Linked DNA regions of Homo sapiens: all the other regions are linked to region 1. Evidence: promoter capture Hi-C in 16 types of primary human blood cells and fetal thymus (Javierre and others, 2016). All regions are on one chromosome and are shown on one strand. Each heading gives the region's core, a stretch centred on a gene start or on the middle of the fragment in contact. The rest is flanking DNA. Distances are from core to core; before and after follow the strand shown.

Evidence for each region. The method cuts DNA at HindIII sites, captures the fragments that hold promoters and counts their contacts. A CHiCAGO score of 5 or more calls a contact.
Region 2: a contact is called between a fragment that was not itself captured here and the fragment with the promoter of GOLPH3 in region 1, in 14 of 17 cell types (total CD8 T cells, total CD4 T cells, naive CD4 T cells and 11 more). The highest score is 21.1, in total CD8 T cells.
Region 3: a contact is called between a fragment that was not itself captured here and the fragment with the promoter of GOLPH3 in region 1, in 16 of 17 cell types (naive CD4 T cells, fetal thymus, total CD8 T cells and 13 more). The highest score is 33.6, in naive CD4 T cells.
Region 4: a contact is called between a fragment that was not itself captured here and the fragment with the promoter of GOLPH3 in region 1, in 1 of 17 cell types (naive CD4 T cells). The highest score is 5.6, in naive CD4 T cells.
Region 5: a fragment that was not itself captured here is called in contact with the fragment with the promoter of GOLPH3 in region 1 in 4 of 17 cell types (activated CD4 T cells, total CD4 T cells, non-activated CD4 T cells and 1 more); the score reaches 6.6 in activated CD4 T cells.
Region 6: a contact is called between a fragment that was not itself captured here and the fragment with the promoter of GOLPH3 in region 1, in 1 of 17 cell types (non-activated CD4 T cells). The highest score is 5.2, in non-activated CD4 T cells.
Region 7: a fragment that was not itself captured here is called in contact with the fragment with the promoter of GOLPH3 in region 1 in 2 of 17 cell types (M0 macrophages and total CD8 T cells); the score reaches 6.8 in M0 macrophages.

Annotation. Positions count from the first base shown.
Region 1 is chr5:32,172,445-32,176,669 of GRCh38, forward strand. It overlaps GOLPH3 (golgi phosphoprotein 3), which reads right to left and starts at 1,875. Exons shown (of 4, transcript NM_022130.4): 1 at 1,366-1,875. The coding sequence starts at 1,590. RefSeq lists a silencer at 1,159-1,768. The HindIII fragment of the contact is 5,568 bases long and covers 882-4,225 here.
Region 2 is chr5:32,604,843-32,609,067 of GRCh38, forward strand. No RefSeq gene overlaps it. Among named protein-coding and RNA genes, the nearest start is that of SUB1, 21 kb to the left of the region's middle. The HindIII fragment of the contact is 3,243 bases long and covers 172-3,414 here.
Region 3 is chr5:32,587,839-32,592,063 of GRCh38, forward strand. SUB1 (SUB1 regulator of transcription) reads left to right here. Exons shown (of 5, transcript NM_006713.4): 2 at 674-746; 3 at 3,725-3,847. The coding sequence starts at 675. Among named protein-coding and RNA genes, the nearest start is that of SUB1, 4.4 kb to the left of the region's middle. The HindIII fragment of the contact is 545 bases long and covers 2,034-2,578 here.
Region 4 is chr5:31,826,599-31,830,823 of GRCh38, forward strand. The region is part of intron 2 of PDZD2 (PDZ domain containing 2); the gene reads left to right. Among named protein-coding and RNA genes, the nearest start is that of MIR4279, 110 kb to the right of the region's middle. The HindIII fragment of the contact is 976 bases long and covers 1,566-2,541 here.
Region 5 is chr5:32,495,646-32,499,870 of GRCh38, forward strand. No RefSeq gene overlaps it. Among named protein-coding and RNA genes, the nearest start is that of ZFR, 53 kb to the left of the region's middle. The HindIII fragment of the contact is 655 bases long and covers 1,540-2,194 here.
Region 6 is chr5:31,851,502-31,855,726 of GRCh38, forward strand. The region is part of intron 2 of PDZD2 (PDZ domain containing 2); the gene reads left to right. LOC124900953 (a long non-coding RNA gene) reads left to right here and starts at 3,355. Exons shown (of 2, transcript XR_007058717.1): 1 at 3,355-3,667. RefSeq lists enhancers at 1,829-2,502, 2,503-3,175. The HindIII fragment of the contact is 355 bases long and covers 1,789-2,143 here.
Region 7 is chr5:32,459,164-32,463,388 of GRCh38, forward strand. No RefSeq gene overlaps it. Among named protein-coding and RNA genes, the nearest start is that of ZFR, 17 kb to the left of the region's middle. The HindIII fragment of the contact is 604 bases long and covers 1,856-2,459 here.

The DNA of each region.
Region 1 (4,225 bases), core at 625-3,124:
TCAGCACTTTGGGAGGCCGAGGCAGGCGGATCACTAGGTCAAGAGATCGAGACCATCCTGGCCAACATGGTGAAACCCCGTCTCTACTAAAGGTATGAAAATTAGCTGGGCATGGCGGCGCACGTCTGTAGTCCCGGCTACTCGGGAGGCTGAGGCAGGAAAATCGCTTGAACCCGGGAGGCGGAGTTTGCAGTGAGTGGAGATCGCGCCACTGCACTCCAGCCTGGGCGACAAACTGAGGCTCCGTCTCAAAAACAAAACAAAACAAAAACACAAAATTAGCCGGGCATGGTGGCGCATGCCTGCCTCAGGAGGCTGAGGCAGGAGAATCGCTTGAACCCGGGAGGCGGAGATTTCGGTAAGCCGAGATCGCGGCATTGCACTCCAGCCTGGGCAACAAGAGCGAAACTCCGTCTCCACATAAATAAATAATCATTTTTGTAGGCAAATATAACAAATACAGCAAAACGTCATAGAATCTAGAAAGAGTATATATGCATATGTATCTATCACTTTTTCAACTTTTCTGTGTGTGAAAATTTTGGACACTGAAGTGAAAATAAACGCTTTCAAAGTCAGAATACAAAGAATTATCTATTGCAACTTCAACCCACCTGAAGCTTTGAGGCCTCTGATCAACTCACAAACCTACATTTCAAGCACTCGATGAAAAAGCCCTTTCTTAAGACGGCAAGACTTTGAGATTCATCAACTGATAAAATATAAAAGCGATACTAAAAATAATCTCTCACCTAATGTAAGTTCACCTAGAAAGTCATTTACCAGGAGGTTTCATGAGAAACTTAACTTAACTTTACTCAGTAAAAGAGCTTTTCCCTCTATTACCACTTCGCCTACGTTTTTCGTAATTCCCAACAGTAAGCTTTAACTGAAGAAGAAGAAAAAAAAAACATCCCCAGCAAGCAGATCCGGGCACCCCTCCCAGGTCCTAAAGCCTGCAAAAACCCAAAGAGTTCGTGGCGCTGGTGGCTCCAGCTGTTAGTTTCCCGGGCAGTCTCCGGGTTGGATTTGCACCCTGGGGTCTACACGGGTTAAAAACGCGGAAAAAAGGCGACGAAGAAATACAAACTGCCAGGGTGTCGAAATGAAAGGAGCGACTGTGAAAGGGGTAAGGAAAAATCCAAGCCATCTCTACGGGGAGGATCCAGAAAGCACCAGCCGCGCCAGGGGGTCAACCAACTCCGACACCGCTCGGCGTCAGCTGGGCGCCACCAGGCGCGGACTTCGGAGCGAGGGCAGGTGCGCGGGCCGGAAGCCTCGGGCGCTCACCTGGCACCTACCTGGAGCTCACCTGGCGCCCGGGCCCCGCGCCGCCGCCCCCCGCCCAGCCCGCCGCGCCCGCACCTCGCGGTCCTTGAGGCCCAGCAGGAGCACTTCCTCCATCAGGGTCAGCCGCGTTTCCTTGGAGTCGCCCTTGTCGTCGTCGTCCTGCTCGTCGCGGCGGCTCTGCGCGTCGTCCTCGCTGCTGCCGGCGCCGCCGCCCGCCGCCCGCTCCTTGTCGGCGGCGTTGCGGGAGGCCTCGGTGCGCCGCTGCACCAGGCCGGAGCTGCGCTGGGTCAGCGAGGTCATGGCTCCCGCCGAGGCGCCGAGCCGGGCCGAGAGGGTCGCAGGACCGACCGGGTCGCCCTCCTCCTCCCCGCGCGGCCTCCGATCCGGGTTTCCGTGTTAAATCCGGACGCCGGGGCGACGTCCGTCGGCAGCAGGGCCGGGGGCAGTCATGAGGAAACAGGTCAGGGCGAAGCGGGCTGGCCGGGCGTCGGCGGGGCAGGAGAGGAGCGCCTTCCTGCCTGTGGCCGCAGTCCCCGAAACACCCCGAGCTCCAAGGCGGAGGCGGCGGCGGCGCCTTTCCAATATGGCGGCCCCGGCTGACGTCACCGGAGGATGTGGCAGAGTCGGCGCGGGAGAGCTGGGCCGGGAGGCGCCGGAAGCGGCGGCCGGGGATCCGCTGCCACTGCAGCCTACACCCTTCCCGGCCCTCGGTGCTTGTCTTTTCTTTGGCGTTCCTGCGCCCCCTGACCCGCGGTCCTGCAGTCCTGCTCCCGTGACGTGCCCTCCCTCCTTCCGTTCCCCGTTTCCCCTTCACTACCCAGGGCTGGAGCCTGAACCTGGCGGGGCCCCCCGTGAATGGAAGAGCCTGGGCCACGCGAAGGTGGACCCCACTCAGCCTCCAGCCGTGCCCTCCACGCCCCAGACACCGCCGTCTTCGGAGGCGACTCCGCGGTCGTGTGGACGGGGTCCCATTTGGACTCCGGGGTCTGCAGGATCGGCAGGAAGGACTTTGCTCTCTGCTGCTGGGCGGGGAGGGGTACGCTATCTGCCGGGACTCCCTAACCCTTTAGAAGGAGCAAGTGCGTCCAAATGGTTTGAAAGTGGACCTTTATTGTTTTCCAGGAGTAAGAAGATAGAACAGTTGACCAGTTTTGTTTGTAAAACTTCTTTCCTTGCCTCGGACTTGTGCTATAAAGTGACCAGGGCGTAGTGAGTACAGTTAGTACCGCACACGTTAGCACGCTCGACCTTAACGATCTTTTTATAGAGACAATAAACCTGCAGCGTTTCATGCCACGTCTTTGTACGCATCGGATGTCTCTCCGTGTAGTTACTAGGTGAAATCCTCTTGGCGTGCGCAAATTAGGTTAAAAAAATAGCTGTCAAACCTGAGACAGGAGTTGGAGGAGTAGAGGGTGGCGCTTGTTAAGTGAAACATTTAACCAGGAATGGTATTGTGTGCCATCCTGTATTAAACAATGTATGGACAGAGTGGAACAACAGCAAAGCAAAAAATAAAAATTTTTTAAAAAAAGTGATCATGGGCTGTGGCTAAAGAGTGCTTTAGATGGATTCTTCTCTTCCACAAATCCATTATCCAGAACTGCTGCTGCCTACCATCCCATGCCCTGGAAAGTGACAGTGCTAAATGAAGGGAAGAGAGGGTCCAGGGGGCACACCAAGTAGACCTTCCCTTTTTCCCACCTGTCTTGGTGAAGGTCGATTTCACCTCAACCAATTTCTCCCATTCACACCCTCTTTTTTTTTTTTTTTTTTTTTTTTTTGAGACGGAGTCTTGCTCTGTTGCCCAGGCTGGGGTGCAGTGGCACAATCTCGGCTCACTGCAAGCTCTGCCTCCCGGGTTCACGCCATTCTCCTGCCTCAGCCTCCTGAGTAGCTGGACTACAGGCGCCCGCCACCACGCCTGGCTAATTTTTTGTATTTTTAGTGGAGACGGGGTTTCACCGTGTTAGCCAGGATGGTCTCGATCACCTGACCTCGTGATCCGCCGGCCTTGGCCTCCCAAAGTGCTGGGATTACAGGCGTGAGCCACCGCGCCAGCCCACACCCTCTTTGGACCTTTTTTCTTCATCTTTTCTGATTTTACCAAATGTTGTAGCTTGAAATATTTCTTTGTAAAATAAATGTAATTAATTTATTATGTGAAAAAAGTTAATCAGGAGTAGTGGCCCACATCTGTAGTCCCAGGTCTTCGGGAGGCTGAGGCAGGAGAACCGCTTGAGCCCAGAATTTGAGGCTGCCATGAGGGTGATCGTGCCACTGCACACCAGCCTGAGAGACAGAGCAAGACCCTGTCTCAAAAAAAAAAAAAAAAAATTGGCTGGGCGCGTTGGCTCACGCCTGTAATCCTAGCACTTTGGAAGGCCAAGGCGGACGGATCAGGAGGTCAGGAGATCGAGACCATCCTGGCTAACACGGTGAAACCCCGTCTCTACTAAAAATACAAAAAATTAGCCGGGCGTGGTGGCGGGCCCCTGTAGTCCCAGCTACTCGGGAGGCTGAGGCAGGAGAATGGCGTGAACCCCGGAGGCGGAGCTTGCAGTGAGCAGAGATTGCGCCACTGCACTCCAGCCTGGGTGACAGAGCGAGACTCCGTCTCAAAAAAAAAAAAAAATTACTTGACTAATATAGTCAAGTATGTAGTTCAAAGAGTACAAAGATATGTGTAGTGAAAATCTCCCTCCCAGCTCTGCCCCTGTTCACCCAGTTGTTCTCCTTTCTCTCCTGAAGGTTTTAATGCCAACAAATCCTCTGATACTCCTCCCCTCAAAATGTGAAGCCTAATTTCCCTCCCCCTGAGTGTGGGCCAGACTTAGTGACTCTCTTGAAATGAATAGAATGTGGCCAACATGACTGTGTGGCACTTCTCAGGTCATGAAAGTCTATGCAGCTTTTTTCCTCCCCAGCTGCCCTC
Region 2 (4,225 bases), core at 543-3,042, 430 kb after region 1:
AGCTGGGTATGCTGGTGAGCACCTGCAATTCCAGCTACAGTGGAGGCTGAGGCAGGAGAATTACTTGCACCCAGGAGGCAGAGGTTGCAGTGAGCCGAGATTGTGCCACTGTACTCCAGCCTGGGCAACAGAGTGAGACTGTCTCAAAAAAAACAAAAAAACAACAAAAAAAGCTTGCTACATGAACAGGACTTTTCTTTGCCCACTTGCTTCATTCACATAAGCCCCTTACAGAGTCCACACCTTCCCAGACCTGCTTTTATAGACATTTTAGTCCTGGATTAATAGTGACCCACTGCCTAAGTGAAATGCTCCTCTTCACTTTTTAGGTTCTTGATAGTTTAAATGGTTTATCCTTCTGCTGGATAACTTACTGCATAGTTAGGAGATAAGATTTATGCCACTTTTTAACTGCTCCTGAATTTCAACTCATTTCAATAGTTGGATAATGTAACCTCCATGGGTAACAGGAAGACTGTATATGTAGTTCAGAAATCAGCTGAAGTTGTCTATGTAGTAACTCACGTATCTTGAAAAGTGATGTGAAAGTTCCAGTTTTGCCTTCCTAAGTAAGCTAAGCCCAAGTCTTTTAAAATGTTATGTATTTATTTTTTGAAGAGACAGGGTCTTTCTGTGTTGCCCAGGCTGGAGTGCAGTGGCTGTTTACAGGTGTGATCCTAGCGCACCATGGCCTTGCACTTGTGGGCCCAGGTGATCCTCCTGCCTTAGCCTTCCTAGCATCTGTACACTGCAGGTGTATACCACTGTGTCTGCCAAGCCCAAGTCTTTTAATAGCTCCTATTCTGAAGGCTTTATTTTTCAAGTATGTAGTTGTTGCAGGAATGGTACAGAAAACTCCCATGTACCCCTCCACTCAGAGACCCCATTCAGATTTTGTGAGTTTCAGTGTCTTTTAGCAAAAGCATGTAACACAGGATCACGTGTCTCATTTGATTCTCTCTTTACTTCAGTTTCCTTCAGCCTGACAGTTCCTTAGTTTTTCCTTGACTTTTACAACTTTGATGTTTCTGAAGATTTGGTAACATGAAGGCCATTGGTGGTGGTGACAAGGGTGGGGAGGGCAGAGGCTGGTTGAGTGAGGAGTGGAGACTGTGTGTAAGTTCATTTGAGCAGCTTGGTTGTGAAGGATAAAGAAAAATAGGATGGTGGCTGTAGAAGGGTGTGGGATCCAGGGCAGAGTGTGATTGAAATTACAGTGTGCAGCATCTGAAGGAAGGTGGTAAGGTTCCTAACTTCTTCGGTATGAATTTAAGTTGACCTTTGGTGTCAGCAATGGTTTCTTTTTTTTTTTTTTTTTTTTTCCTGAGACGGAGTCTTGCTTTGTTTCCCAGGCTGGAGTCAGTGGCGTGATCTCGGCTCACTGCAAGCTCTGCCTCCCAGGTTCACGCCATTCTCCTGCCTCAGCCTCCCGAGTAGCTGGGACTACAGGCGCCCGCCACCGCGCCCAGCTAATTTTTTGTATTTTTAGTAGAGACGGGGTTTCACCATGTTAGCCAGGATGGTCTCGATCTCCTGACCTCGTGATCCGCCCGCCTTGGCCTCCCAAAGTGCTGGGATTAAAGGCTTGAGCCACCACACCCGGCGTCAGCAACAGTTTCAACCACTTCCCACTTTTTTTTTTTTTGGTGACTAAGTGCCACCTGAACCATGAGTACTTCTAGTAATTTTAAAGAAAAATATGAATTACTACTTTTTTTTTTGTTTTTTTTTTGAGACGGAGTCTCGCTTTGTCACCAGGCTGGAGTGCAGTGGCACGATCTCGGCTCACTGCATCCTCCACCTCCCAGGTTCAAGCAATTCTCTGCCTCAGCCTCCTGAGTAGGAGGGATTACAGGCGCCCACACCAGGCCCGGCTAATTTTTTGTACTTTTAGTAGAGATAGGGTTTCACCATCTTGGCCAGTCTGGTCTTGAACTCCTGACCTCGTAATCCACCCGCCTCGGCCTCCCAAAGTGCTGGGATTACAGGTGTGAGCCACAAATTACTTCATTTTAACAGGAATTCGATCACTTGGTTCTCACGCCCCTCTTCTCCACAGCCAAGCTCTCCAAATTGAGACCAGGGCCTAGTCAAACCTTGGGTTTTGGGATCTGGTACCAGTCATGTCTAGCCATGAGCCATTCTCATTTATTGTTTTAAGGTGCATGAGATCTCAGTTCCTTGTTGGAGTCACAGGGCCTGCGCTGGATGGGGAGCCTATAAATGAAGGGAGGAAGTTTAAGACCTCTTTAATCTATTGGAGGAGCCTCGGGAATGGCTCCTAGGCCACAGGGTCGCAGATGGAAATGGCCCCTCTAACTTGAAGAATGTTTGCTTCCTATTTCAGTGACCTTGCACTTGATTTTTTTCCCCCACGTATTTTATCTTTATTTTTTTTGAGAGTCTTGCTCTGTCACCCAGGCTGGAGTACAGTGGCGTGATCTTGGCTCACTGCAACCTCCACCTCCCAGGTTCAAGCGATTCTCATTCCTTAGCCTCCCTAGTAGCTGGGATTACAGGTGCGTGCCACCACACCCGACTAATTTTTGTATTTTTAGTAGAGACGGGATTTCACTGTGTTTGCCAGGCTGGTCTTGAACTTCGGGCTTCAAGCAATCTGCCCGCTTTGGCCTCCCAAAGTGCTGGGATTACAGGCATGAGCCACTGTGCCTGGCCCCCAACGTATTTTATTCTGAAAAATTTCAAACCCAGAGAAAAGTTGAATCAATAGTATAAGGAACACTCATATCCTTCACCTATTATTTTGCAACCTTCTGTCTCTTTTTGCTGAACTGTTTGGAAGTAAATTGTAGAAAGTTAACGTACGCATATGCTGAGCTATTTTTACTTCTGAGCCAAGTGTGTGTGTTTTTTCCATCACCACTTCTCTTACTCCATTTGGGTGTCCTACAATTTAATTCTGATACCATCTACGTGGAGTTAGTGTGTCAGATCCCACAAGTTAAGGGCTCAGTCCCACAAGAAGGCCCCCACTTCAGATGCCAGCCGTAAGTCCATGGTTGTCACTGGTACTTGTGACCAGTAAATTCAGAGGGTTTCCACAATCCCCTTCTCACATTTGATAATTGACTGGAACCATTCACACAACTCAGGAAAGCACTTTATTCACAATTACAGGTTTATTATAAAGGATAAAACTCAGGAACAGCCAAATGGGAGAGATGCCCAGGGCAAGGTATGGGGAAGGGAGATGGAGCTCTGTGCCTTCTCTGGGAGCACCACTCTCCCAGCACCTTACTATGTCACCAACTTAAGTCTCTGAGCCCCATCATTTAGGGTGTTTTTATAGAGATTCCATTACACGTGATTGATTAAATTTTTAGCCATTGGTGATTAACAGTCCTCACTTCCTCACCCATCCCCAGAGGTTGGGAGGTGGAGCTGAAAATTCTAAGCTTCTAATCAAAGTTTCATCTTTCTAGCAACCAGTCCCCATCCTGAAGCTGTCTAGGGGCCCTGCCAAGAGTCCCTCATTTGAACAAAAGATCCTACTATCACTTTTAACTCAAGAAATTAGGTTTTAGGAGCTCTGTGCCAGGAACCAGGGACAAAGACCAAGTATCTCTGATGCCACTTAGGCATACATGTTTACACACATACATACATGTGTATACATCTATACAATTTTTTGGATGAATATTTGAAAGTAAACTGCAGGCATATTTCATTTTAAGTACTTCAATATGTATTTCCTAGGAATGGAAAGATACTTTAACATTTTTTTAATGGAAAATAATCATATTTTGCAAAACAAAATTATGAGTGACATTATTTTACATTTTACCAATCTCTTTAATAGAACATGGCTGGATTCTCCTGTTTGCTTCTGCAGATAATCTTTTGTTTGGGTTGAGGTATGTGAAGAAAATGTGGCCTCACAGAGATGTGTAGTTGGAAAAGGGAGGAATACTTTATTATTTTTTTTTTCTGAGACAGTTTCGCTTTTGTTGCCCAGGCACCATCTGGGCTCACTGCAACCTCCACCTCCCGGGTTCAAGCGATTCTCATACCTCAGCCTGCAAAGTAGGTGAGATTACAGGCGTATGGCACCATGCCCGGCTAATTTTTGTATTTTTAGTAGAGACAGGGTTTCACCATGTTGGCTAGACTGATCTCGAATTCCTGAGCTTAAGTGATCTGCCTGCCTCAGCCACTCAAAGTGCTGGGATTACAGGCATGAGCCACTGTGCCTGGCACAGGAATA
Region 3 (4,225 bases), core at 1,056-3,555, 420 kb after region 1:
CCTCAGGTGATCCGCCTGCTTTGGCCTCCTAAAGTTTTGGGATTACAGGCGTGAACCATCGTTCCCGGCCTGAATTGCGTATAATTTTGTGTACTCTTGAATTAGTACCTGTCGTTATTTTGGTGATACGGCCAAAAAGTCAAAATATGAATAAAATATTATGTAAAAATTAATTAGATGTCACATTTGCATAGTACAGCTAGTTCCCTGTTGTGTAAATGTTGGGGTCAGTTCCCCATAGTGAATAATTTTACGTTAGTTCCAATCTCGTTGATGAGAAGTCTAAAGCAGTAATAGTAGAATTACATTTCTTCTGGTTTTAATAGTAATTGTTGTCTGCTGCCTTCTTGCAGTTTACCCTACCCATAGTGTGTAATGCCATTAAAACGAAGTATAGAAAGATCCATTGGCCTGGAGAAAGGTTAGAGGTGTAGGAGTGTATGACATTTAGTTCATTGTTCTTACTGGGTTCAGCACATTGCACCCTGCGTGTTATTTGCAACTTAAAAGGGTATAGATTAAAACTTGTGCTCAGTGTAACAACTCAGTACCACAAAAATGGTAGAATGAACCGTGGAACTTGTCCTTGATTTTTTTCTTTGATTGGGGGAGAGCTAAGTTGAAAGTAGTAGAGTACCTTATTAATTATTTTTGTAATGTATTTTTCTTTCAGGATGCCTAAATCAAAGGAACTTGTTTCTTCAAGCTCTTCTGGCAGTGATTCTGACAGTGAGGTTGACAAAAAGGTGACTACTGCTGCACCAAGTCATTTTGGTGATACTCAACAATATTGTCCATATCCCATTCTGAAGGATAGTAAAAGGTGTATTAACATCTTAAAATGAGGATCTAGCTGGGCGCGGTGGCTCATGCCTGTTATCCTACTTCTTTGGGAGGCCGAGGTGGCAGGATTGCTTGAGGCCAAGAGTTCAAGACCAACCAGGCTAACATAGCAAGAACCTGTCTCTTTAAAAAAATAAATAAATAAAAAATAAAAAATAAGAATGTGAATGGGTATTTCTGGAGGTACGGTTGGTCTCTGGACCACTTGACTAGAAGTGCCTAGGATGCTTTTTGCACATTCATACTCATAGGCCCTAAATCAGACTTAACAAGTCTTCTGTTGAGCATCATTAGGAACCCTAAAGTTGCAGAAACACTGCCTTGCATCCTAGGGTCATAGAATTCTAAGTAGGCCAAAGTCACTATTTGCCGTTATTTAGAAATTTACCAGATTTTTTTTTGTAAAATGTTAATTTTTTTTTTTAAAGACAGGGTCTTACTCTCTTGCCGAGGCTGGAGTGTGGTGGCACCATCATGGCTCACTGCAGCCTCGACCTCCTGGTCTCAAGCAGTCCTCCCACCTCTGCCTCCAGAGTAGCTGGGACTACAGGCATCATGCCTGGTTAATTAAAAAAAAAATGTTTTTGTAGGGACCAGGTATTGCTGTGTTGCTAAGGCTGGTCTCAAACTCCTGGCCTCAGGCAATTCTTCTGCCTCAGACTCCCAAAGTGCTGGGATTACAGGTGTGAGCCATCATGAGTGGCCATAAAATGTTAATTTTGACAGTTCTCTTAGTTACTGGTGTTTATTCTGCACATAAGGTTTTCTGAATTTTAGACTTGGTACATTTTTAAGTTTGTACTAAGTTTGTGCTCTGGTCCCTTCCATTTAATTAAATCAGCACGCAGTAAAGCTAACTTGAAACCCATTGACAAGATAGGCTTTTTCTGCATTAGATGACAGCTGCACCGTAATTGGTGAATTTCGCTAAATTGAGCATCTCAGTGGAGCATAACTGAGCGTCTCACTCTGCGGTCAAGTCTTCCGTGCAGAATTGTCTTTTATCGCATAGAACTTTACATATCTGAAGAGATATTTATATCCTAGAAATAGAATAAGTTGGTCGTGTTTTTCCTAATTAGTATATATCCTTTGTAAAATAGTAAGTAATGACTAGCACTGGTAGACCTGTGATTTCCGAAAGTTTATTCAAAAGAAGCAGGCTCCCTATCTTTTTTTTTTCCTCCTGAAGCTTAGCAATTTTAGCTAAAAGAAAAGGGGAGAGCGTATGGGAGATTGGAGAAGTTGCAACCTTAAAGTATAAATATAGAATATAACAACACATGGAAGGGTAAAATAAGGCTTCAAAGACTATACTTGAGTAAATTTCTTAATTTTAAAATTTGCACCCTATATAGTATTTGAGTATGTTGATGTAACACATGTGTATTGAGCTTTTATTTGCCAGACATGCACTATTCCACAGGGAATACTTAGAGCCTGATTTATAGAATAATTGCTTTCTGCATATTGAGCTAACTTTTTGTTTGTCCCAAATAGTAATATTACTCTTGTAAACACTTAACCTTGTATACCACATTTTTCATTTCATGTTTTACATGTATATAATATTTTTCCTAGCTTCATCTAATTTGGTAACATTCAATTAATTTAGTAACATTAAAATATTTATACTATTCCATCAAGAAGGAACATGACTGCCCTCTTCTGTTTGGGTTGGGTATTGTAGTGGTTTTTATGGGTTAGCTCTTTTTGAGAATGCGACTTTCTAATAAGCTTTTAAAATAATGCTGTTTTTAAAACAACGTTGTGATTTTTGAAAGCTAGTCTAACACATAGCTGTCTACAATGATTTTTTTTTTTTTTGTAATGAGGAAGTTCTTGAGTTGCTGGCTGTCAGTGCCCAGTGCAAAATAGCTCTCTAAAGATTTGCCTAATTGTAAATTCCTTTTTTTTTAATTTTTTATTTTGAGATGAAGTTTTGCTTTTGTTGCCCAGGCTGGAGTGTAATGGCGCGATCTCGGCTCACTGCAACCTTCGCGTCCCGGGTTCAAGCGATTCTCCTGCCTCAGCCTTCCGAGTAGCTGGGATTACAGGCGTGTGCCACCACGCCTGGCTAATTTTTTTTTTTTTTTTTTTTTTTGAGATGGAGTATCGCTCTGTTGCCCAGGCTGGAGTGCAATGGCACGATCTCGGCTCACTGCAACCTCAGCCTCCTGGATTCAAGCAGTTCTCTGCCTCAGCCTCCCTAGTAGCTGGGATTATAGGTGCCCACCACCACGCCTGGCTAACTTTTTTTGTATTTTTAGTGGAGATGGGGTTTCACCATGTGGCCAGGCTGGTCTCGAACTCCTGACCTCAAGTGATCCTCCCGCCTCGGACTCCCAAAGTGCTGGGATTACAGGTGTGAGCTACCGCGCCCGGCCCATAAATTCCTTAAGCCAGCATAAATTCCTTTTGGAATAGGCAGGACATAAATAAACATATCCTGGAAATGGAATAAGTTGGTTATATTCTTTTTAATTAGTATATCTGCTTCGTAAAATAAGTAACTGACTAGCCTTAGTAGACTGTGGTTTCCAGGTTTATTCAGAAGTAGCAAGATCCCTCCATTTTTTTTTCTACCAAAGAAATCGTATGTGGGATCCCAAACCACAAAATAACCGTTCCTGTGGTTAATACTACTATAATGCCTGAAGTGTCTTTTGGGATCCTGAGAACAGAGTTTGAAAACATTACTAGACAGAAGGATTGGTTAGATTCATAGTTTTGTTGTTGAGTGAAACTTGCTTATGTATATATTTATGATATTTTGGATGTAGTCTTTTGATTGTTTAAATCTTAAAAAGTAATGGGATCTTTTGACACTGGGGTATGTTTTATTTTTATGTGTGCAAATTTTAACCATATTCTTTTCTAGTTAAAGAGGAAAAAGCAAGTTGCTCCAGAAAAACCTGTAAAGAAACAAAAGACAGGTGAGACTTCGAGAGCCCTGTCATCTTCTAAACAGAGCAGCAGCAGCAGAGATGATAACATGTTTCAGGTAAAGTTGGCTATTTTTTTTTTTTTTTTTTTTGACATGGAGTCATGCTCTGTCACCCAGGCTGGAGTGCAGTGGCGCCATCTCGGCTCACTGCAACCTCAGCCTCCTGAGTTCAAGCAGTTCTCTGCCTCAGCCTCCCGAGTAGCTAGGATTACAGGCATCCGCCACCAGACCTGGCTAATTTTTGTATTTTTAGTAGAGATGGGGTTTCACCATCTTGGCCAGGCTGGTCTTGAACTCCTGACCTTGTGATCCAACTGCCTCAGCCTCCAAAAGTGCTGGGTTTACAGGTGTGAGCCACCATGCCTTGCCAAAGTTGGCTGTTTCTTTAGATTCAGAGGAATTATTATCTGGCTTGATCTGAAGAATGTTAAAAGT
Region 4 (4,225 bases), core at 804-3,303, 350 kb before region 1:
TCGGAAGGCAGAGGTTGCAGTGAGCCGAGATCACGCCACTGCACTCCAGCCCGGGTGACAGAACAAGACTCTGTCTCAAAAAAAAAAAAAAGATATATGAAACCTGTTTATTCGATATTATCAATGTAAATTAAAACATTTATCAGATATTACCCAAATGAGCCACATGCATTAGGTATATGCTTCTCATTTACTTCTTACAACATCCCTATGAGGTAAGAGGCGAGTATTATTACCTGCATTCACAGATGAGGAAATATAGGCTGAGAAAGATTGGATAAACCCATCTATTAAGAGACAGAGCCTGGAATCGAGCCGGGGTGACCTGCCTCCAAGACCTGAGTCTTTTTTTGCTGGGATGCTCTGTCAATTGCTACCCATATGCCAAATAGTGTGTCTGTCCCTATAGACAGCACGTCCATTCCCCAGAAAGGAGCGTAACCTTCCTGTAGGCAGCAACAATTCTGTAAGTGGCATCCTGGCCAGGGAACCTTGCTCTTTATTCATGAGGTCACTGTCTTGCCACTTCCCCACTATGGAGGGGTGAACCGGGAATCAGAAAATCTGGGTTCTGAACACTTTCTTAATCTATATTTATTCATTTAAGGATATTTACTGACCACCTACTGTTTCAGCTCTGGAACTGCATATTGGGGAAATACTCTTCTATAAAACATATAAAGTCCCTGGTTTTCTGGGGCCTTTATCCGTGCCTTGGAAAACTGACTTATCCTTGTAGGCGTAATTGTGATTAATAACGATATGAAGGAATTTTTAAAGTAAGCTTTCTTGTTATATAATAGCTTTCCTGAGGCTGGGTGTGGTGGCTCATGCCTGTAATCCCAACACCTTGGGAGGCTGAGGTGGGTGGATCACTTGAGATCAGGAGTTCGAGACTAGCCTGGCCAACATGGTAACACCCCGTCTCTACTAAAAATACAAAAATTAGCTGGGTATGGTGGCATGCGCCTGTAATCTCAGCTACTCAGGAGGCTGAGGCAGGAGAATTGCTTGAACTGAGAGGCAGAGGTTGCAGTGAGCTGAGATCACGCCACTGCACTCCAGCCTGGGTGATAGAGCAAGACTCTGTCTCAAAAAAAATAAATAAATAAAAAAATAAAAATAATTTTAAAATGGCTTTACTGAGATGTTCACCTACTATAAAATTTATCCTTTAAAATGTACAATTGAGTGGTTTTATAGATTCACAGCATTGAATATCACCAATATCTAATTTTAGGACGTTTTTATCCTTCCAAAAAGAAGACACATACCTATTACAGGGATTCTCCATACTCCGCTTCTCCAAGCCCCTGGAAACCTACTTTCTGTTCCTATAGATTTACCTATTCCAGATATTTCAGTACATGGTCTTCTGTACTGAAAGTGTAATGACTTCAGTGCTCATCTGTGTTTCAGTATGATTCAGAACTTTACTTTGTTATATTGCCAAATAGTATTCCATATGTTTAACCACATTTGTTTAACCATCCATCCATTTGTGGACATTTGGGTCATTTCCACTTTTTGACTATTATGAATCATGCTGTGAACATTGGTGTACAAGCTTTTGTGTGAGTATGTTTTCAGTTCTGTTGGATATATATGTAAGAATGGAATTGATGATGATATAGTAACTCTATGTGTAACTTTTTGAGAAATCTCCAAATTGTTTCTCAGGACTATTTTACATCCCCACCAGCAGTGTATAAGGGTTCTAATTTCTCCACATTCCTGCCAACACTTGTGACCTGTCTTTATGAGACCAGCCATCCTAGTGGGTGTGAAGCTGTATCTCACTGTGACTTTGATTTGTATTCTCTAATGATTAATCATGTTGAACACCTTTTCATGTGTTTTTGAACCTTTGTATATCTTTGGAGAGATGTCTATTTATTTTATTTTTTAAGACAGGGTCTTCCGCTGCCACCCAGCCTGGAGTGCAGTGGCATGAGTGCAGTGCAGAGGCTCACTGTAGCCTCAACCTCCTGGGCTCCAGCAATCCTCCCACCTTATTCTCCTGAATAGCCAGGACTACAGGCATACGCCACTACACCTGGCTAATTTTGTAAAAAATTTTTTTGTAGAGACAGGGTCTTGCTGTGTTTCCCATACTGGTCTCAAACTCCTGGCCTCAAGCCATCTTCATGCCTCAGCCTTAGAAAGCACTAGGATTATAAGCATGAGCCACCATGCCCAGCTAGAAATATCTATTTTAATTCTTTACCCACTTTTACATTGAGTTGTAAGAATTCTTTATATAGCCTAGATACAAGTTCCTTAGCAGATATATGATTTGCAGATATTTTCTCAGGCAGCTGCACATATTAAACAATTGCCATGGATTGTTTTCAACAAATAACCTAGGGACAAGGCTACTTTTGCAGCATCAGCTCTGAATCAAGTCAAGTAAGGAGAAACCTTGAAAATGGAGCCTTTCAGAGAGCTGTTGGACAGGTCAAGTAATAACAATTCTGTGAAGATAGAGTTTTTGGGGGCTTCCAAACTTGTTCTGCCTCAGTGGCTGCTAGTGATGTTTCAAGCTTTTGGCTAACTTCCAGAGTTCTGAAAAAGTTGATTTTGGTCATTTTTTCTAGTGTTTTTGTTACTCTTATAGAGGTGTGGATTTTTGGAGGTCTTTATTTTTATCATTCCAGAAGGGCTTTTTCCAGTAAACTTATCTTTGAAATACGATATACGTAAAGGCACATATCAAAAGTATTCAGCTTAGTGAATTTTTTTTTTTTTTGAGACAGTCTTGCTCTGTTGCCAAGGCTGGAGTGCAGTGGCATGATCTCAGCTCACTGCAACCTCTACCTCCCAGGTGCAAGCTATTCTCCTGTCTCAGCAGAGTAGATGGGATTGCAGGCACCACACCTCGCTAATTTTTGTATTTTTAGTAAAAACAGGGTTTCACCATGTTGGCATGGCTGGTCTCAAACTCCTGACCTCAGATGATCCACCCGCCTCGGCCTCCCAAAGTGCCAGGATTACAGGCATGAACCACCACACCCAGCCCAGCTTAGTGAATTTTTATATTAACCATCACCCAAACTGAGAAACAGAACTTAACTAGTATGTCAGAGCCCTCCTTCTTACCTCTTACCAGTTACTAACCCCCCTTTACCAAAGTAAAGTGGTATCCAATAGCTGTAAGAACTTTCCTATCTATGGCTGGGTGTGGTGGCTCATGCCTGTAATTCCAGCACTTTCGGAAGCCAAGGTGAGTGGATCACTTGAGGTCAGGAGTTCAACCTGGCCAACATGGTGAAACCCTGTCTGTACTAAAAATACAAAAAATTAGCCGAGTGTGGTGGTAGGTGCCTGTAATCCCAGCTGCTCTGGAGGCTGAGGCAAGAGGGTCGCTTGAACCTAGGAGTCAGAGGTTGCAGTGAACCAAGATCATGCCACTGCACTGTAGCCTGGGTGACAGAGCGAGACTCCATCTCAAAGAAACAAGAAACAAAAAACTTTCTTGTCTAGTACCATTCTGATTTTTTCCAACTGTTTCATTCTACTTGTTCACATTTTCCCTCCAAACCACTCCCTTAATACATTTAATCCAATGGCTTTTTTTTTTTTTTTGAGACGAAGTTTCGCTCTGCCGCCCAGGCTGGAGTGCAGTGGAGCGATCTCGGCTCACTGCAAGCTCCGCCTCCCGGGTTCACGCCATTCTCCTGCCTCAGCCTCCCGAGTAGCTGGGACTACAGGCGCCCACCACCACGCCCAGCTAATTTTTTTTTTTTTTTTTGTATTTTTAGTAGAGACGGGGTTTCACCGTGTTAGCCAGGATGGTCTTGATCTCCTGACCTCGTGATCTGCCCGTCTTGGCCTCCCAAAGTGCTGGGATTACAGGCGTGAGCCACTGCACCTGGCTCTGATGGCATTTTTAACTTGTATGTTTTATTTTTTTAATATTCAACTTTTAAAAAATTATGAACTAGCCTATTTGGGACATCCATTTGTTTCTGTCAAGCTCCTCCTGCCTCCCCAGATTCCTCTGTCATCACAGCCATTTCCCTATCAGTAAGCCAGGCCCTGGAGTATTGGCTGTTAATTCTCCTCTATCCCTTTTTCCCAGACTTGCAGACACCCTTGATCATCCACATAAAAAGGGAAGCTGAGATGTCTTCAGGATAAAGTTACATGTTTTTTCATGAGACTTCTGCACAGTGTCCAAACACTCTGATCTGTACAGATAGAAAGGACACTTCTTGAGAGTCTT
Region 5 (4,225 bases), core at 617-3,116, 320 kb after region 1:
ACCCCAGCTACTTGGGAGGCTGAGGCCAGAGAATTGCTTGAACTGGGGACCAGGAGGCTGAGGTTGCAGTGAGTCAAGATGGCACCTCTGCAATCCAGCCTGGGCTACAGAGCGAGACTCCGTCTCAAAAAAAAAAAAAAAAAAAATCAATGTGATTTGAGAAGGGGAAGAAAATCTCTCCTTCAAGAAGGAAATTCACTTTACATAAAGTGAAAAACGAAATAACTACTTAGAACTTCTGTTTTCCAGGTTCCGTACAGTAGGTTCTTTGCCGGGACTAGCTACATAATTTTCAGGGCTCAGTGCAAAATAAAAAGATTTGGGCCCTTATTCGAAAATTATTAAGAATTTCAAGATATTGACTGTAAAATGTTAACTAAGTGCAGGGCCCTTCTCTGTACAGAAATGTGCAACTGTGCAGGTCACACACCCATGAAACCTACTGGACTCCTGCTCTGGAGAATTGATAATACCTTGTAAATTGTAGGGTTCTTTGGAGGATCTGTTAGTCCCAGCTCAGTTTCCATCTTGGATCTTATGTTTCTCCCGTCGGCTTTCTTTCATAGATTTTATTCTCCCTCTGATTTCTGACACTGAAAATCCAAGATTAGAGCTCTCTCAAAAGTGCCTCAGAGCCCGTCTTCCTGTTTTTGACATGAAACAGCCACTTTCCTGGATTAACTTCATGCTAGATGAAGTCATGCAATATGGTTAGTGTGGAAGACAGGGTTTTGTTGTTGTTGTTTTAAATTTGTTAGCTGTAATGAACTCATATGCTGCTCCATAGGTCCCCGGCTGTCCTTTTTTTGTCTTCTGAGTTTTGTTCCGCCTTAGTCTAGGGGTTGAGGAAGCTGTTTAGGTCAGGCCCACAGAAATTCTGGCCATGGGCTACTGCATGGTCCAAGTGAGAAATAATGGCAACTGGGATGGGGAAGAAGCCTTGGAGATAGAAAAGGGCTGATTCAAGAGAGAGGGAAAATGTACAATCAATAGGAGTAGGTTGAATTGAATAAGAGAAACAAGGGTATCAAGGATTTCCAGCTTGAATAGAACATTGTTCCTCTTGTTCATGTGCTGGATCAATGTTTAATGAATTTCCCCCATGTACCAGGCACTGTTAGACTGTTTCAGATATTTAACCCCTTCCCCCTTCATCACTATTGTTATTATTTTTGAGACAACGTCTCACTCTGTCACCCATTCTGGAGTGCAGTGGCGCGATCTCAGCTCACTGCAACCTCTGCTTCTCGGGTTCAAGTGATTCTCCTGCCTCAGTCTCCCAAGTAGCTGGGATTACAGGCATGCACCACCATGCCCAGGCTAATTTTTTTACTTTTAGTAGAGACGGGGGTTTCACCACGTTGGCCACACTGGTCTCGAACTCCTGACCTCAAGTGACCTGCCCACCTCTGCCTCACAAAGTGCTGGGATTACAGGCATGAGCCACTGCACCCGGCCTGATCAGGTGATGGATCTTAAGACTCTCCCATGAGAGGGCTCCCACCCTATACCATGGGGGAAAGAATGTTGATGTCATGAAGCTTCTGTAAAAACCCAAGAGGACATGGATCAGTGAACTTCCGGGTAGCTGAGCTCCTGGAGGTTCCTGGAGGGTGGCGCTTAGGGAGGACATGGAAACTCTGCGCCGCTTCCCTAATATCTCACCCTGTGCATCTCTTCTCGTGTATCCTTTACTATATCCTTAATAATAAACCAGTAAATGTGTTTCCCTGAGTTCTATAAGCCGCTCCAGCAAATTTATTGAACCCATATAGGGGGGTCATGGGAACCCCAACTTGAAGCTGGTCAGTAAGAGGTTCTGGAGGGCCGACCTTGCAACTGGTGTGTGTTAGTGGGGGTTCAGGAGGCAGTCTTAGGGACTGAGTCCTCAGCTTGTGGGATCTGACACCATCTCTGGGCAGACACGGTTGGAACTGAATGAGAAGACCCTCCCTGGTGTCCGTTGCTTGGTGTGTGGGGAAAAAGCCCCATATATTTGGTCACAGAAATCTTCTGTGTTGATGATTGTTGTGGTGTGAGAGTAGAGGAAAAACATGGTTTCAGGAGAGTTTTTCCCTACACAGTTTGATACACTGAACGTCCCTAATTTTGGTGAACACCCTTAAAATTAGTGCTTTTGGGGGAAGAAGGGACTAGATTGATGAGTTTTTCAAGGAATAAAGAGAAGAAAAGAAGCTTAAGAAGCTTTTTCTTGGCCGAGCATGGTGGTCCCATGCCTGTAATCCCATCATTCTGGGAGGCAGAAGGATTCCTTGAGGCTAGGAGTTTGAGACCAGCCTAGCCAACAAAGCGAGACTGCCGCCTGCCTCCAATCTCTACAGCAAAAAAAAAAATTAGTGGGGTATGGTGGCGTGTGCCTGTAGTCCTAGCTAATTGGGAGGTTGCGGTGGGAAGAGTGCTTGAGCCCAGGAGTTTGAGGCTGCAGTGAGCTGTGATTGCATCACTGTATTCCCACCTGGGTGACATGATGAGACCCCCGTCTCAAAAACAAACAGGCTGGGCGTGGCGGCTCACACCTGTAATCTCAGCACTTTGGGAAGCCAAAGCAGGTGGATCACTTGAGGTCAGGGGTTCAAACCAGCCTGGCCAACATGGTAAAACCCCATCCCTACTAAAAATACAAAAATTAGCTGGGTGTGGTGGCACGCACCTGTATTCCTAGCTACTGGGGAGGCTGAGGCATGAGAATGTCTTGAACCTGGGAGACAGAGGTTGCAGTGAGCCGAGATTGCACCATGCACTCCAGCCAGGGCAACAGAGTGATACTCCATCTCAAACAAACAAACAACAACAACAACAAGAATCTTTTATTCATGGAACCCAATAGAAAAGGTGGAGAGACATAAAAAAAAAAATTAAATTCTACAGAGGTATCCACCTATGCCTGTGCCCAGTCTGTCATCCAGCAGTTTGGTTTCAGTGTTTAGTGATTACCTCTGTGTGTCTAAATACTATGTTTACACTGCTTGCTATTTCCTGGTTTATCATCTTTAGACATTATCTCTTGACTTCCTCTTGTGAAAGATAAGGATTTAACTTGCTCACAAAGATAAGGATTTAACTTGCTCACACTCCTGTCCCAGTAAAGCTATATCATTATTTTTAGTTCCTCTACTGGTTTCTAACATTAAGTAATGGACTGGAATCTCTCTTGTTCTAGTGATTTCAAGGAGTATCTTCTTCTCCCTTTATTGAAAGCAAAAAAAAAGCTTGCCTTTCCCTTCAACACAACTGTCCATCTTTTACTTCCCAATTTCCGACATCTGTCATTTCACTTTCACCTCGTCAGGCTGATAAACTTTACATTCTGTTCTGTATCCACAGTTGACTCCACCATGCTTTGCCTGTAGAGCTGGATTCTAAAAGGCGAACATCTCCAGGGGAGGATGGGAGTGGGGATCGAGGTTTGGGGGTTTCTCTGAGAGAGGGCCTGACCTGAAGAGGCCACCTGGACAGGAATAAGGGGCTTTTCCTTAAAGGGTTTTGTTCAAGAACCCAGGAACTGGGTGGGAGCTGAGTCATTATCTGCAGATCAGTGGTCTTCACTGGTCCTTATCTGCCCCCAGGGGCTCAGCTGGCTCTGCTTCCCACTGACATCCCTTGAGAATGATCTCTTTAATAGTAGCCAGCATCTCCTTCAATGTCAGTGCAATCTGGTGACTCCCGTCCATCTCCAAACCTTTGCTCAACCCCTATATTACTTTTCCTATAAGGTTAACCCACACTTCATAACACCCTGTGACTTCAATAAACCCCAGAAAAGGAAGCTGTAACCTGGAACTCATGGGGTGGAATCCCCCTACATTGGTCTTGGAGCTTGAGAGGGTGGAAAGGTACCAGCTTATGACTCCCCATCCACCCACGCAGGATTGGAGCAGTGGCTCTCTAGACATTTGTCCCTCTGACACAGACCTTTCTTTCTTTTTCTTTCTTTCTTTCTTTTTTTTTTTTTTGAGACAGAGTCTTGCTCTGTCACTCAGCTGGAGGGTAGTGGCACCATCTCGGCTCATTGCAACATTCTAGGTTCAAGCAATTCTTCTGCCTCAGCCTCCTGAGAAGCTGGGATTACAGGCACCTGCCACAATGCCCAGCTAATTTTTGTATTTTCTTAGCAGAGATGAGGTTTCACCTTGTTGGTCAGGCTGGTTTCCAACTCCTGAAACCTCAAGTGATCTACCTGCCTCAGCCTCCTTAAGTGTTGGGA
Region 6 (4,225 bases), core at 716-3,215, 320 kb before region 1:
ATCAGCCATCATGCTGAACTCTAAACTGTTTTTAATGAACCATTTCCTTAATGTGTGGAAGCTACTTTGGATTCTGTTAACGTATCAGCAGTTCCCACTCAAATTAATGTTATTTGTAGACTCTGGGTATGCATATAGCAATTTCAAGTATTATTTAAACCAGACCCAAGACAAAATCGTAGACCACATGCTAAGCACCCCTTTGTTTACTGGGCCATTGATCTCTTTTCCAGTCAGCAGTGAAACCTCAGTTAGGGAAAAGACGCACCAGATCATATCTTTCTGGCCTGCTGATGAGAATGGCATATGGATGCAAAAGCTTTCCTGAAATTAAGGTATTAGGCAGATGTGGTCACATTTTTTTTTTTCCCCTGAGATAGAGTCTTGCTCTCTTGCCCAGGCTGAAGTGCAGTGGTGGGATCTCGGCTCACTGCAACCTCCGCCTCCTGGGTTGAAGTGATTCTCGTGCCTCAGCCTCCTGAGTAGCTGGGATTACAAGTACCCACCACCACACCTGGCTAATTTTTATGTTTTCAGTAGAGACGGGGTTTCACCATGTTGGGCAGGCTGGTCTTGAGCTCCTGACCTCGTGATCCGCCTGCCTCGGCCTCCCAAAGTGCTGGAATCACAGGCGTGAGCCACCGTGTCTGCCGTGTGGTCCCATTTTCAATTCCCAGCACTTACGTGCCCCAGACTGAGCTGAGGCAACAAAGATGAGGATGGGGGCAGAATATTTCTTTGCATTATACTTAAAACCATACATTTATTTTTATTATTTATTTATTTTATTTATTTTTGAGACTGAGCATTGCTGTGTCGCCCAGGCTGGAGTGCAGTGGCGCAGTCCGGGCTCACTGCAACCTCTACCTCCTGGGTTCAAGCTATTCTCTTTCCTCAGCCTCCCAAGTAGAGTAGCTGGGACCACAGGCGCGTGCCATCACGCCTGGCTGATTTTTGTATTTTTAATAGAGATGGGGTTTCACCATGTTGGCCAGGCTGCTCTCAAACTTCTGACCTCAAGTGATCCAACTACCTTGGCCTCCCAAAGTGCTAGGATTACAGGCATGAGCCACCACGTGCCTGGACTTTATTATGTATTTATTTTATGTTTTTGAGTTGGAGTCTCACTCTGTAGCCCAGGCTGGAGTGCAGTGATGGGATCTCGGCTCACTGCAACCTCTGCCTTCCGGGTTTAAGCAATTCTCCTGCCTCAGCCTCCCAAGTAGCTGGGATTACAGGTGCCCACCACCACACTCAGCTAATTTTTGTATTTTTAGCAGAGATGGGGTTTCACCATGTTGGTCAGGCTGGTCTCGAACTCCTGACCAAAAGTGATCCACCCACCTCGACCTCCCAAAGTGTTGGGATTACAGGCGTGAGCCACTGCGCCTGGCCCATACATTTACTTTAAACAGCATTGATGTACACATCATCAATTATGTACCTGGATTGAAGGAGTGGAGAAAGAAGCTAAAACATTGGGAAACTGTTGTGGAAAAAACACTCAGAAAGGAAGCAAAGGAGCACTTCTCAAATTATTATTAGAAAATTATTCAATTTGAACTTAATTCCCATAAAACTTATAGGATGCTAATGAAAGACTACCACTTCCTGGCAGAAGAGTGGGAAAAGGGAAGGGGGTGGAGCCAGCATTCACTGAGACCCTTATAATATGTGTAAGCCAGACACTTTGTGTTAGAGAATTCTAATACCCTTGGTTTTTTCTGAAATCATCAGCCTAATTTGCTTTGACCCAGGAATTGCGATGTTTGGAGGACTGGTCTACAAAGCTTGTTCTCACTGGGCACATGTAGTGTTCTCCTAAACTCCATGAGGTATTGTTGGTTGCAGTACCCAAAACTTCTTGAAATAAATCTTATCCTGGGGTTCTGTTTCCTTTTGGTTCTTCCGAAGGAGGAATACCATGACCTGACACTCCTTGCCTGTTTCTGGGTTGGCTGTTGTGCCCACCTGAATGAAGCAACTAGGGGTAATTCCAGGACTGGTAATGATGATAATTATTTACTATGTGCTCTGGGGCTGCTTCTGAGAGTGGGCAGATTTCCAGCCCAGGCTTGACATGGGTTGGCCCCTCCTGGGCTTTAATTACCCATTCCGGTGGCAGTAATGGTACTGGAATTGAAGCTTTCTTTTGCCTCCTCCATTATAATTAATTGCTTCGAATTCCACCAGATCTGTCCGTTGCAAAGCTCATTTACTTTTAGGGGCTGCTGGATGCCCACAACCAGAGCTTAGAGCCAGAGGGGTGGAGTGGGACTGGGGTGTGACTTAACCTGAACCCCAAGGAGTGGAGTGTGTGCCTGCCTGTGCAAGTCCCGGGAGGGAGGCCCAGGGCTTGAGTGAGTTTGTTTGCACTGAGATTGGTGCCATCAACCTCAGGAGCTCTCCATTCCTCTAGCTCAGGTCCCTGGGAGCTCCACCCTGGGTGCCTTTTGAAGCCAGGTGAAATGTGTTTTGAGCAGACGTTCCATAAAGGCTTGAGGTTTGGCACCAGTGACGCTTTTACTTTTCAACAAGTGTCAGGAGTGGAAAAATGGAAGAGAATACAGCTGAAGTTTTGAAAAGCAATGAAATGTGGGGTGACTCCCCCTCCCGCTGCCAGCCCCCCTCCCCTGCTTTAAGAAAAGCAAACACTCTTTTCCTGTCTTATTTGTGTTCCCATTAATTTAAGACAGGAAGCCTCAGTGGGTGTGATGTAAACAATTCGGCCTCGTGGGTCGGGCTTCCTCATCAGTTTGCAGCTGGAGCGATGGCTGCAGGGCCCAGGCCCACTCAGGCCTCCTGGGGGAGGGCTTGTTGACTGAACCCCACAGAAGGTGGGAGGGGTAGGGGAGCGGGAGAAGGTATAAAGGAAATGCTTCAGTCGTGCAGTCACCGGCGATTGTAATTCAGCGGTGTTAACTTTGGTTACTCCAGCCGAAAGGCTCTGACCGGGGATTTCTGGAAAGTTCCCTGACATCCTGCCCCATACGATGGTTGTGATTTTAGCTGGGGGCTCCACCCCTGTAAGAACTCAGGCTGCCGCGGATTATGAAACGGAGTGGTCATGAAGTGAATTGATGTGGGAAGGTGGAGCTTCTTGCAATGGCTCGGAGGGAGAACTTTTGGTGCAAACGAGGGTCTAGGGTAGGGCGCTTTTTCCTCTAACCTGCTCCAGGTTTGCCCCAGGAAGCTCCTGAGCCCTCGGTGTAAACAAAGGTGTCTGGATGAGAAGCCCCAAACTCCCTGAAATCCTCCCCAGGGCGGTTTCCTTTTCCCGGCGAGGGGAGTGACCGGGGAGGGGATCTTGGAATGCCGTGGGGTTTTGACAAGTGAGCAGGGGAGTGGCGAGCCGAGTTTAGGATTGCATTACAGGCTTTTCCTAACCTCCTCCACCGCGGCGCGGAGGGAGGAGGGGGGGGTCCTCCCACAGACCTGGAGCCGGCGGAGAGCAGCCTTCGGGAAGTCCTGCAGGAGCCGCGTTCCAGGAGGGCAGCTGGCAGCCGCCCCAGGCCCCCGGGCCGCCTGCAGGTGATTAGGCTAATGAGCTGCCCCGGGGGCGCGGAGACCGGCCTGGCGAGCGGATTACCCGGCGCCCAGCTGCTGCCGGCGGAGACTCCCAGGAGCTCCGGAGAGGAACCCTCCGAAGGTGACTTCAGAACTGGAGGTAGGAAATCGGCTTCTCAGGCGAAAGCCTCAGGTTTTCTGATCTGATCCAGGTCGGGTGCAGACTGGGGCTGAATCCACAAATGTGGAGATTTAGCCACAGCCTCGGAGGCGCGGAGCGGCCACCTAAGCGTCTGCCCTTCTCGTCTCCCGGATCACTGGGGTGTGTTGTTTTTAAAGTGGGGGATTTGCGTGTTGAGAGACGGTTTGTGTTCCTCGGGAGGAGTAAGTGACTTGGAGCTGGTTTGTCAATGGCTGGACGGAAGGAGGCGCCCCGGCTGTGTGTGACGGGCAGGGAAGGGGTGCCCAGAGGGGACAGGTAATAGGGGGTTCCGGAGCCACGGCGGTTTCAGAACCTTGGGGCCTGTGCCGTTGAAGCCCCGGTAGGGGCGGGGGGCATGGCAGCAGCCCGGGAAATCTGTCATACTGTCCCCCATCCCTCGCTAGCAGCAGAATGACTGAGACGGAGCAAAGCTGCTTTCTCTACCCGCGGGAACTGTGGATGATTTCACAAGAAGTCGTGATGGCATTTGGAGACAGATCTTTGCCCCCAAATTAC
Region 7 (4,225 bases), core at 908-3,407, 290 kb after region 1:
GGGGCTGTTATGAAGGTCTCTGACATGCCCTGGAGACATTTTTTCCCATTGTCTTGGCTATTAACATTCAGCTCCTCCTTGCTTATGCAAATTTCTGCAGCCGGCTTGAATTTCTTCCCAGAAAAATGGGTTTTTCTTTTCTACCATATGGTCATGCTGCAAATTTTCCAAACATTTATGCTCTGCTTCCCTTTTAAACATAAGTTTCAGTTTCAGATAAACTCTTTGTGAACACACACGACTGAATGCTTTCAGAATCAGCCAGGTTACCTCTTGAATGCTTTGATGCTTAAAAATTCTTCTGCCAGATACCCTAAATTGGTGGGGAGTGGTGGCTCACACCTGTAATCCCAGCACTTTGGGAGGCTGAAGTGGGTGGATCACTTGAGGTCAGGAGTTCAAGACCAGTCTGACCAACAAGGTGAAACCCTATCTCTACTAAAAATACAAAAAATTAGTAGGGTGGAGTGATGGGTGCCCGTAATTCCAGCTACTCAGGAGGCTGAGACAGGAGAATCGTTTGAACCTGAGAGTCAGAGGTTGCAGTGAGCTGAGATCATACCATTGCACTGCAGCCTGGGCAGCAAGAGCAAAACCCCATCTCAAAAAAAAAAAAAAGAAAAAAGAAATTTCTTCTGCCAGATACCCTAATCATCTCTCTTAAGTTCAAAGTTTCATAGATCTTGGCTGGGCATGGTGGCTTATGCCTGTAATCCCAGCAATTTGGGAGGCTGAGGCAGGTGGATCACTTGAGGCCAGGAGTTTGATACATGGCAAAACACTGTCTTTACTAAAAATTTAAAAAATTAGCCAAGTGTGGTGGTGCACGCCTGTAATCCCAGCTACGCGGGAGGCTGAGGCAGGAGAATAGCTTGAACCTGGGAAGCTGAGTGTGCAGTTAGCTGAGATTGCACCACTGTGCTCCAGCCTGGGCAACAGAGCAAGACTCTGTCTCAAAACAAAACAAAACAAAACAATGTTCCACAGACCTCTAGGGAAGGGGCAAAATGCCACCAGTCCCTTTGCTAAAGCAGAGGAAGAGTGACCTTTGCTCCAGTTCCCAATAAGTTTCTCGTCTCCATCTGAGACCACCTCAGCCTGGACTTCCATATCACTATCAGTATTTTGGTCAAAACCATTCAATAAGTCTCTAGGACATTACAAACTTTCCCGCATCTTCTTCTCTTCTTCCAAGCCCTCCAAACTGTTCCAACCTCTGCCTCTTACCCAGTTCCAAAGTCGCTTCCACATTTTCAGGTTATTATAAAGATAGCAGTACCGTGCTATCCCAGTACCAATTTTCTGTATTAGTTCATTTTCGTTCTGCTATAAAGAACTGTCTGAGAGTGGGTAATTTATAAAGGAAAGAGGGTTAATTGACTCACAGTTCCACATGGCTAGAGAGGCCTCAGAAAACTTAAAATCATGGCGGAAGGGGAAGGGGAAGCAAGGCATGTCTTACATGTAGCAGGACAGAGAGAAAGAGCAGGGGAAACTACTTTTAAACCATCAGATCTCATGATAACTCCCTCACTATCAGGAGAACATCATAGGGGAAACTGCCCCATGATTTAATCACCTCCCACCAGGTTCCCCCTGACACATTGGGATTACAATTCAAGATGAGGTTTGGGTGGGGACATCGAGCCAAACCATATCAGAGGTGGAGCCTGGTGGGAGGTGTTTGGGTCATGGGGACAGATCCTTCATGAGTGGCTTGGTACTGTCCTCACAATGGTGAGTTATCACAAAATCTGGTTGTTTAAAACTGTGTGGTACCTCCCTGCTCTCTCTTTTGCTCCTGCTTTTGCTGTGTGACATGCCTGCTCCCCCTTTGCCTTCCACCATGATTGAAAGCTTCCTGATGTCCTTACCAGAAGCAAGTGCCAGCACCACACTTGTTGTACAGCCCGCAGAACCATCAGCCAGTTAAACCTCTTTTCTTTATAAATGACCTAGGCTTAGGTATTTCTTTATAGCAACATAGGAATGGCCTAATACGGCCTGCATACACAGACACGCACATGTGCACATGCACACGTGTGTGCCTGTGCTCACAAACACACTCAAGCCAGGGAAGGCCCTACAAAAGGTACAGTCCATGTAGGGAAACGAACGCATCTTCTTGAGAGATTGTTGGCACTACTTGAGAGATTCTTCAGCTGTAAGAAGTCCTTTTGTAGGGGGCTACATTTCTAGTCCTAAGTTCCAAGTGTTTGGGTCATGTTATCCATTCAAGCTGAGATCTGGATTAAAACCCAGTCATACCCATCTGGGGAAGGCTTTAACTGCCTTCTGTTGTCTGTAGCCATCTCCATTTACTTCCCAGCTTTTACAGAAGAAGTCGCATACATTCCTCTCCCGACTGATCCAGGCTCTCTAATCTTCACTGAATTGCCCAGAAAAGATGCCCCTTTCCTTAAGTCCATGTCATCAGAGCGAACTAAATCACAATTACAAGCTTCCATGCATGCAAAAGCAACAAGACCAAGGAGAGGTGCCAACATTCCCCACTGTTACTGGAAAAGGGCCCACATGGTGGCTTTCAGTCATTTTACTATGCTCCCATAAAGGCACCTTTCTTCTTTCTTCATTAGTTCTGATTTCTACAACATAAGATCATATTAGGATTTCTAAAGGGCAGAATATTATAGGCTTTTGAAAATTTTTAACTGTTAGAGACTCTCTAAATCCAGTGATTCTCCAAATTCCTAATAATAAGAGTCACCTAGAGATTCTTCCAATTATACAAATTCCTAAATCCCACTGCGTTTTCACTAAATCAGAATCCCAGGGCCTTTGGTTGGAGAAATCATATGTTAAACAAGTCCTCCCAAATGAGTCTTACCAGCAAGTAAGTTTGGGAAACGTTCTGCCCAGCCTCATAATTCTAAGGATGAGGACGCTGAAGCCCAGTTTTTGTCCCCTCTAAAACTCATGTGTTGGAAGCTTAATCCCCAAGGCAACAGTATAGGGATGTAGGGCCTAATTGGAGGTGTTTAAGCCCCCCTGAGGGGTCCACCCTCATAAATAGATTAATGCCACTTGTGAGGACACAGTTTCTCTTTGTACGCTGCCTTCCACCATGTGATGGCGCAGCAAGAAGCCCCTCACCAGATGCCAGCACCTTGATCTTGGACTTCCCAGCATCCAGAACTGTGAGCCAATAAATTTCTGCTCATTATAATAAATTAGCCAGTTTGTGATATTCTGTTATAACAGTACAAAATAGACTAAGACACCTAAAGAAGTTGAATAACTTATTGAAGATACCTGTGTTTACGCTTGTGTAAGTACAGACTGCTTCTGGAGGGACTGTGCCTGTCTTAGGGGAAACAGCCTGGAGAACTGTGAATCTAAGAGGTAAAAAAAGACTTTATTTTTTCATTATATGCCCTTTTGTGATGGTTAGGGAAACATTTTCCCCATATGATGAATAATTTTTCAATAAAAACCTAGTTCTGAGTACATCTGATTTGCATACGTCTTAGAAATATAGTCATTGTACCCTAGCTTCCCCCACTCCCACCTACCTTGAATCTGCTTTCTAGCTGTCAGACAGCCCCCTCATTTCCCTTTCCTCTGCCTACTCCAGACTCCTCCACTTGTGCACAGTCAGCCCTGCTTTACTCCAGCTGCCCTGACTGGGCTGAAGGGAAGGAACACTTGAAGAACCTCTTCTTCTACCAGGAGGGGCATGGAGTGAATCATCCTCTGTATGAGGCAGAGCCCCAGAGCTGACTGCTGGGCTAGGCTGTGACTCAACCAAGGCCTTTCTCCTTGGTGCCACCAATTCCACTAAGTGGCACCCAACCTTGAGTACATTCAGACATGATGTGGAACAGGAATTCTGTGCTGGGGTGGCCATACTCCCACCTTTGTAGTTTCACATAGCAACTTCTCAAAGTCATGTAGACAAGCTTCTTTATGACACGGTGTTAGAAAAAAACATTTAAATATCTAAATACAAAAGTGTGGAACAAGTGGAACTGTCATTACTAGGGTGGGAGTGCCAATTGTTTCAACTACTTTCGAAAACTGTTTGGCAGAGTCTATTAAAGCTCAGCAGTGCATACTTATACAATCCAGCAATTCTATTCTCGGATCTATCTCAGAAATGTGTATATATGTTTACCAAAGGATAAGTACACAAATATTCATGGGAGCAACTATTCCTATTAGTCCAAAATTGGAAACTACCAAAGTGTTCATTGACATGGTTTGG